2 separate regions of the Homo sapiens genome follow, and region 2 is linked to region 1. Evidence: promoter capture Hi-C in 16 types of primary human blood cells and fetal thymus (Javierre and others, 2016). All regions are on one chromosome and are shown on one strand. Each heading gives the region's core, a stretch centred on a gene start or on the middle of the fragment in contact. The rest is flanking DNA. Distances are from core to core; before and after follow the strand shown.

Region 1 (4,347 bases), core at 881-3,380:
TCTATGTTTAGGCTAGGGCCGTGAAAAAAATGGGAGCTGGGCTGGGAGCAGTTGTACTTGCCTGTAGTCCCAGATACTCGGGAGGCTGAGGTGGAAGGGTCCCTTGAGCCCAGGAGTTCTGTGCCACCCAGAATGATGGATCTGCACTAAGTTTGGCATCAATATGGCACCCTCCCAGGAGCGGGGAACCACCAGGTTGCCTAAGGAAGGGTGAACTGGCCCAGGTCAGAGATGGAGCCGATCAGAACTCTCATGCAGATCAGTAGTGGGACCATGCCTGTGAATAGTCGCTGCCCTCCAGCCTGGGCAACATAGTGAGACCCTGTCTCTAAGAAACAAGCAATAAGAAAAGAAAAAGAAAAGGGACCAAGGCAGGGCTTTGGCAAAACACAAAGCAAGCCAGCCAATCTTTAACCCCAGCCTTGGGCTTCTAAACTGGGATTCCTCCACACTTACTCCTTTTTATTTTCCTCCCATTTGCTTCTCTCTTCAGTTCTCCTGAACATTCTCTAGGTCTGGGCCTTAATGGGTACTTATGAGTTAAAAAAAAGAAATGATGATGGGTTACCTAGGAGTGGTCAACGTATCTATTACTTCTAGGTAAAAAACACAATGTTTTAAGTACCTGTAAAAACAACATGTCTTGGCTGGGCGTGGTGGCTCATGCCTGTAATCCCAGTACTTTGGGAGGCTGAGGCAGGCAGATCACGAGGTCAGGAGCTCAAGACCAGTCTGGCCAGCATGATGAAACCCTGTCTCTACTAAAAATACAAAAAATTAACCGGGCATGGTAGTGGGTGCCTGTAATCCCAGCTACTTGGGAGGCTGAGGCAGGAGAATTGCTTGAACCTGGGAGGCGGAGTTGCAGTGAGCCGAGATTGCGCCACTGCACTCCAGCCTGGGCGACAGAGTGAGACTCATCTCAAAAAACAAAACAAAACAAAAAAATACATGTTTCCAGAAAGCTCCTAAAAAATTAGTATCAAGAATTTACGATCGGGCAAGAAGCAGGAAGCAAGTGGCAAGTGGGACTCTCAGTACCTTTATAATATAGTAGGTGGTGTTTGCCTTCTTTGGTTTCAGTAAGAACTTTTGGGCGATCATCCCATCTTCGACACTTGAAAACATTTTCCAGGAGTGATCTTGGTGTGGTTTACTCAGTCTAAGGCCATTCATTCCTTAAGGCTGGCCAAGCATTTGTTTTGCAGATTTTTCTTCTTAGAAAAATTTAGGCCGTGTTAGGTATAATAATTCCAACTAATTTTTTTTGTTGTTTTTTTGAGACAGACTCTCGCCCTGTTGTCCAGGCTGGAGTGCAATGGCGCGATCTTGGCTCACTGCAACCTCCGCCTCCCAGGTTCAAGCGATTCTCCTGCCTCAGCCTCCGGAGCAGCTGGGATTACAGGCACCCGCCACCACGCCCGGCTAATTTTTGTATTTTCAGTAGAGAAGGGGTTTCACCATGTTGGCCAGGCTGGTCTGGAACTCCTGACCTTGTGATCCACCCTCAGCCTCCCAAAGTGCTGGGATTACAGGCGTGAGCCACCGCGCCCGGCCAATTCCAACTAATTTTTTTTTTTTTTTTTATTATATGGGGAAGGTTACTCAGTCATTCAACAAACATTTGGGCACTTCCACAGGTACACCAAATACTGTGCTAAGCACCTGCTGCTCATCAATAGTGATTAAGACAGACTCAAGCCCTATCCTAGAAGATTTGATAGTCCAGTAGGGGAGGCAGACAACAAATACATAAATATAAAAATATAAACACTTTGCTTTAAGGGTTAGGAATGAAACCAACAGATTGTTGAGACAGAGGATACAGTACCGGTAGGGGACATAGTCAGGGTGATCAGGAACAACTTCCCTCGCAAGGTGACATTCGAGCGAAGACTTACAGGAGGAGAAAGGCGCCAGGCCTCGGAAATGGGGTCACGTTCATGTAAGTCAGTTAAAAATAAACCCCAATCTCTCCAGCAGCAAGGTTGGACGTATGGGGCCAAGAAGCCTCGCTGCCAGCACTAAAGATGGCGCGCCGGAGTGGGGGTGGGGGTGTTGGGGGAGGCGGGGCGTGCGCGCGTTCTGATTGGCCGACCGGGGAGTGACGTCACGTGTCGGCCGCCGAGCATCCGGGCTCCCGGCAGCGGCGCTGCGGCGGCTCGCGGGAGACGCTGCGCGCGGGGCTAGCGGGCGGCGGAGCGGACGGCGACGGGGCGCTCTCGGGCTGCCGGCGGGGCCGAGCGCCGCGCGTCCCGAGCATGGCAGGCTCCCTGCCTCCCTGCGTGGTGGACTGTGGCACCGGGTAAGAGCAGCTCGGCGCCCACCCCCGCTCCTCCGCGGCCCCGCTCCCGGCCCCTGGCGTCCACCTCGCCTGGAGGTCGAGCTGCGTCCGTCGCCCCGGGCTTGAGCCCCGCGATCACCTGGGCAGGTGGGGCGCCGGCCGCCGCTTCCCTCCAAGCCTTGCCTTGACGTCGTAAAACCCCCTCTTCCCTGCCGGGAAGGGCCACAAGAGGAAAAGCACGGAGGGTAGGGACGCGGTGCCCACTCTGAGCGAGCCCGGCGCTCCTCGCCTCCCCCGCCCACGTGGCCGGGCCCCTGGACCCGCAGCCCGGCTCCGGCCGTCGCCGGGGTGGACACCCTGAGGGACACCGGGAGCGCGGGATCTCCCCTCCTAGGAATATTCGCCAGCGTGAGGCACAGATCATCACTGCAGATCCTTTAACGTCACTCATCTCCTAGTGAACGGTGTCCCTGCCTTCCAGCGTTCTCAGCACTGGCCCTCGTTCTGTCCCCGCGTGTGCGTGTCATTCCTCCTGGCTGAGGATTCTTTACCACCTACTTGTGGAGAGAATAGCATCGATCTCCCAACTTGATACCATTTTTACTGCCCTCCCTGCGCTTTTCCAGTATGAAATGGCACACTCAGGCCAAGCTGTCCCTTTGGTTTGCATAGATTTGCCTTTTCGCTGAAAAATGATGTGTTTAAAAAGACTCCATTTTGAAAAATACCCTAAATTTGGGAGAGCATGTTTGTGGAATTGTGGTAGAGGTTTTTGTTTTTAACTTTTTGAGTGTGACCACTTCTTTCGTTGCCGTTAAGCTATTAAAAAGAGATCTTAGGAAATGCCCTGAAGTATCGGTGACCCAAGTTAGCTGGTTGTAGTAAGGTGATTGCTGAATCCATGTAGCTGGTAGTTTGGGAATACAAGCTTGCCTGCCTGCGTTATGGGTGTAGTGCTTAGTAAAATAGCCTGGAAGTAAATTTGGTCTCTTAGCGATTTTTTTCAAGAAGGGATTTTAATCATTTTTGCCACAAAATGTAACATGGCATGTTCACCTTACCCTTGATTCTTTTCTATAGAAAAATGCACTTGGTTTGGTTTCCTTGACAACCTTGTGGGGGTGCCTTCTTTAGTTTGCTACAGTCCATCTCCTACTGTTAGTTCCTTCCTTTTGCTGCTGAAGCGACCAGAAGTGGTTGTGGACTGGAAAAATCCTCTTTGCTTGTGTGAATTCTTTTTGAAATACACGTCATATCAAGCTTTGTAGCTCTTTATTTTAGAACTTGCTTTTCTACCTAAAACACAAGCCAAAATCAGCGTTGTCGATACTACAGCTCCCCTCCCTCAATTATTGACACCCTTAACTCATGCCCTCCCCCAATGGGTTCACCTCAGGTCCCCTCAGGTCTGGTTGTGTCAAGAGTGAAACCAGTGGGTGAAAGTATTTTTCATTTCCACATTTGCATGTGAGATTTTTGCTTTGTAGTTTTAGTCTTGCAGAACTATTAAAATATAAAGGAATTCTTGGTAGTAGCAATAAAATAATGCTCACAGAGTTGTCATACCTTTAAGATTAGTAAGTCGTGGACCTTACTCATCTTTCTTGCTATAAATACCTAAAATGTCGTGCTCAGTTTTGACCTTTTGAGGTAAGTGATTAATGTAACTTGGCTAACTTGGAGATTCAACTTCTATAGATCATTGTTTTGTGGCCCAAAGTCATGCTTCAGAAGTTGGTGTCAAGACTTAGAAACGGTGGCAGGGAATCTCCATATGAATTCCCCATATCGAGTGTATGGCCAGAAGGAGCCTGAAAGAGCCCGAATTTACCAACTTGAGCACATCAGTAGTTCTTACATTTCCCAGAGAGCCAAAATGATTTTTGGATTTAGTTTTGCCTCAAAATAGGACAAAAAGTGGTAAAATTCAGATAAAAATAACCAAGCCAAAGGAAAAGAACGGACCTAGGAAGTCACCCTGAGCTTTAGCCCAGTGGCTGCTGAAGTTGGTCCGCACATTCGACCTTAGTCTTCCTGTCTGACAACATCATAAGAGTCATGGT
Region 2 (4,473 bases), core at 611-3,110, 1.3 Mb before region 1:
AGAAAAATTAAATTGCTGCATTTCGCAGTGATCCATTTACATGGCATTCCCAGCTTAGACTGCATAAGAAATAGATGTGGTGAAATGTTGGAACCATTTCTCTCTTGGTCTGTTTAATGTTGAAAGGGTGAGCTAATAGGAGGCAATTTCAACTTCACTCCCTCAAGCTACCCTGTCTCCCTCCAGACTGGCAGTTTCAAGGATGCAAACTGCATTGCAAAATCAAACTGACTCATGAAGCATTTGGGCCAGTGCACTGTTTACTTCCATCTGTTTGCTGACACATTTGTGCCCAGCGTTTGGGAGCCCTTTGTATCAACGTTCTGACAAGTGTCCCTATAACCTTAACCTACTCGAAACCAGTTTGGGTTGGATATGATGGGGCTTCTGTGCTATTGCTGGGATTGGGGGAAATAAAACATGCAATTTAAGTGGGGGGAAAAAATCCACCCAAAGGGATACAGGCATCCCTTGGTATACAAGGGGGACTGGTTCCAGGATGCTTGAGGATAGCAAAATCCGAGTGTGATGAAGCCCTGCTTTTCACCCTGCAGAATCTGCATATATGAAAAGTCGGCCCTCCATACATGTGGGCTTTGCATCCAAGGAATACTGTATTTTCCATTTGCATTTGGTTGAGGAAAAAAAAATTCCTGCCTATAAGTGGGCCCACACAGTTCCAACTGTGTTGATTAAGGGTCAACTGTCCTATTAAGCAATACAAAGGAATTAAATACTGGTATATGTACACATGAATAAATCTCAAATGTGTTGTGCTAAGTAGCCAGACGCAAAAAGCTGCATAATATATGGTTCCATTTATTGGGCATCCTGATAAAGACAAAACTATAGGATAAAAACCACAAAGGGGTAGGGGGCTAACTAGAAACAGGCACAGGGCGCTTTTTGGGTTGATGGATTGTTCTACAGCCTGATTCTGGATGTAGATGACTGCAGACTTGCCAAAACCTGTTGAATGCTACCTCAAAAAAAAAAAAGAAATTTTCTCAAAGTTTTAAATGTTATTTTTCCTTTCTTTTTACAGGTGTGGGACCTCAAGTTTTTTAAAAAATCTTCACCCTTACCTCATACATAAAAACTAACTAGAAATGGATCAGAGACCTAAACATAAAAGCTAAAACTACAAAACTTCTAGAATATGAAAAAAAAAACCCAAAAAACAAAACTTTCTCAAGTCCAACAGAGCTTAAAAGTGAAAACAAAAAAAAAAACAACTTTATGATCTTCAGGTAGACAGATTCCTGACACGATACAAAATAAACAAAACAAAAAAAAAAACGAAAAAGTGAACCGAGTTTCATCAAACTTACAAACTTCTTCTGTTCTCTGAAACACAGGAACAACAAAAAAGTCACACTAGGAGAAAATATTCATTAAATACACATCTGAAAAAGGACTTTTATTCAGAATATATAATTCAGTAAGAAGAATCTGATAATCTAGGCAAAAGACTTGAACAGACACTTCACAAACCAAGATATCCAAATTTCCAGTAGGTATATGAAAAGATGTCCACCATTCTTAGTGGGAAATTTCAAATAAAACCACAACCTACCATCTGAGAATAGCTAGAAAGTTAGAAAGGCCGCCAATACCAAGTATCAGGGAGGATGGGCAGGCAGCAACCAAAGCTCTCATGTGCTGCTAGTGGAGGCATAAAATGGTCAAAATGTTTTGGAAAAACAGTTTGGTAGTTTCTCCTAAAGTATACACTTAACATATATGTGACTCAGCAATATCACACCTAGGTATTTACCAAAGAGAAATGACTGTGTGTCCACGAAGACATTTACTCAAAATGCTCATAATAGCTTTATTCTTAATAGTTAAATACTGGGATAACCCAAATATCCACCAATGGGTGATCAGATAAACAAATTAAGGTATATCCATTCAACAGAATACCACTTTGCAATAAAAAGAAATTATACATGCAACACCATGGATGAATCTCAAAAACATTATGCTAACTGACATACAAAAATGAGTATATATTGTATGATTCGATGTATGTGAAATTTTAGGGTAAGAAAAACTAACCCAGAGTGATGGAGAGCAGATCAGTGCTTCCCGGGGAGCTGGGGTAGGGCGTGAGGGACATGAGAGAACTTGTGGGGATGACGGAATGTTTCATATTTTGATAAAGGCAGAGGTTACATAGGTGCATAAATCTGTCAAAACTCATCCAACTCTACACTTAAAATGGATACTTTATTATATGTAAATTACACCTCAATAAACTTGATTTAGGAAAAAAAGATTTTTTTTAAAAGATAATGCATTTACTTTTTTTTTTTTTTTTGAGACAGGGTCTCTATCTGTTGCCCAGGCTGGAGTACAATGGCAGGATCATAGCTCACTGTATTCAAACTGCTGGTCTCAAATGATCCTCTCACCTTGGTCTCTCAAAGCACTGGGATTACAGGTGTGTGTCACCATGCCCAGCCCATTTACTACTTTTTACTAAACAGTATGAGATGGTGGTTATTAGCTATGTGACTTTGGGCAGTTTTCCTGAGTCCTTTTCCTTATCTGTAAATGGACATCATAATGGTACCTATCCTATAACGTGCTTTGTGAGGATTAAATGAAAATGTATACCAAACATCTGGCATGTAGCAAGTGCTCAGCAAATCTCATTATTATTAATATTAGTAATACTATTAGTAACTGCTCTTAGGCAGAAATAATCCGCTTAGGATAAAAAAAGTATTTTCGGAATTATATCTAATAAATTAACCTGAAAGATGACATACAGTAACTATTTCAACTAAAGCCTCAAAATAACACAAGCAAAATAACAAACATACATATACCCCTAAAGCAGAAAATTACTGTTTCATTTACCCACAGCTGAGTGACTGACACCACCCATTTCATGTGCTCATGGTTCTACAGTCAACGCTGGGCTCACTTTTAGTTTACTCTTTGGGGGGCCTTTATCTGGTGGGCTGGTGGTGCTACACAGCTGGGAAGGCGGGGCATTCTCCCTTTCTCTGTGTCTCCTCCTAACATCTACTGCACATCACTTGAGGCTCCCAAGAACACAAAAGCAGAAGCTGCCAACTTCTTAGGGCTTAAAGCCTGGAACTGGCACATCACCATCTCTGCTGCATTCTGCAGGCTCAAGACAGTCACAGGGCAAGCACAGGAATACCAGGAGAGTGCCTCGTTGGGGACTAACAATAGAACAGACACCAGTAAAGCAGACTTGGTTTGTAAACGGCAGAAAAAAGACTGCAGACTCACCTGGCTTATAAATGGAATGAAACCTGAATCACCACTGTTAAAAGGCTGGAAAAACAATGAACCGCATAAAGGTTTCTATGTGTTCCTTACATGACACACAATGCCAATCATATGCTTAACAATCGTATGCACCCACTCTAGTAAGAAATGTGTAGCTCCCCCTATGGCAGGATTGGTGGTTGTTGCTTTTTCGAGAGGGAGGGGTGATATGTGTTGTATTGTGTGTGTCTATGTATATTACACACACACATATATATAGTGTCACTAAGGAAGTGTTTTGAAAAGATGTTTACGATTCTAATTGGAATACCAATCCCCACATGTCCGTCATATAGAGTCAGATGAGAGTGTGTGATGCAGAACATACACATCTTAATTATTGTACAGAACCTAAAAAGTGAGACACCGTTAGAGTTTACGGAACATTCTCACATGAATTATCTCGCTTGTTCCTGTGAGCTAAGCAGGGTTGACATCATGTTGTTCTTTCTCACACCCCTTCCCCAATTTTAAAAATAGATGCTGGGAGATTTTAAAAAAAAGAAAAAATTAAACTGCAATTATTATTATTATGACAAAGACAAGGCAGAAAAAGTAAAACTAGTTCATAAAAATACCCTTTCAAATACTTATAGGTAACCCTATTGCCAATTATTATGCTACCAGATATATACCACTGAGGAAAATAAGAAATACGTTTAATTATATAACATGAAGGACTCAGTTTCATAAATGAAGAATTTTATTAACAGGATTATTAAACTAAAGAAAAATAAAGTGCTACCCAGAAAGGCCATAAAACTGTTTCCCTGGAGATTTTCAAAACAGGATATTCATCTCTACAGGATGGTTTAAAGACAAAGCTGAGGTGGAAGGCAACAATAATAGCCCTGATAAACTGCAGGAAATTAAATGTTTAGCAACAATGAAGAATGAGTTTTCCTAGAACGGTGGCCAATCTGGAGAGAAGACCTGGGATACAGGTGAGGGTGGGAAAGAGCTAGAGAAAAGCAAAGACAAAAATTCTCTATTTCTTAACATATTAAAGAACATGAAATTTAAGAATGATCAAAACTAGTAATAACACAGTATGAGGAAAATGAGATATGAAATAGAGTATACTCATCCGTCAGCCTGAATGGTTAAAACCATTCATATTTTATAAAGATAATTTCTTCAAAAGTTCTTAAAATCTGCGCTGAC

The links. Contacts are between HindIII fragments. The CHiCAGO score rates a contact against its expected background, and 5 or more counts as called.
Region 2: a contact is called between a fragment that was not itself captured here and the fragment with the promoter of ACTR3B in region 1, in 1 of 17 cell types (neutrophils). The highest score is 5.1, in neutrophils.

What each region holds. Positions count from the first base shown.
Region 1 is chr7:152,757,622-152,761,968 of GRCh38, forward strand. ACTR3B (actin related protein 3B) reads left to right here and starts at 2,131. Exons shown (of 12, transcript NM_020445.6): 1 at 2,131-2,305. The coding sequence starts at 2,262. It also overlaps the pseudogene RN7SL845P. RefSeq lists enhancers at 1,773-1,932, 2,933-2,982 and silencers at 2,183-2,702, 2,463-2,757. The HindIII fragment of the contact is 7,028 bases long and covers 1-3,210 here.
Region 2 is chr7:151,503,882-151,508,354 of GRCh38, forward strand. The region is part of intron 1 of RHEB (Ras homolog, mTORC1 binding); the gene reads right to left. It also overlaps the pseudogene ETF1P2. Among named protein-coding and RNA genes, the nearest start is that of RHEB, 14 kb to the right of the region's middle. The HindIII fragment of the contact is 8,388 bases long and covers 1-4,473 here.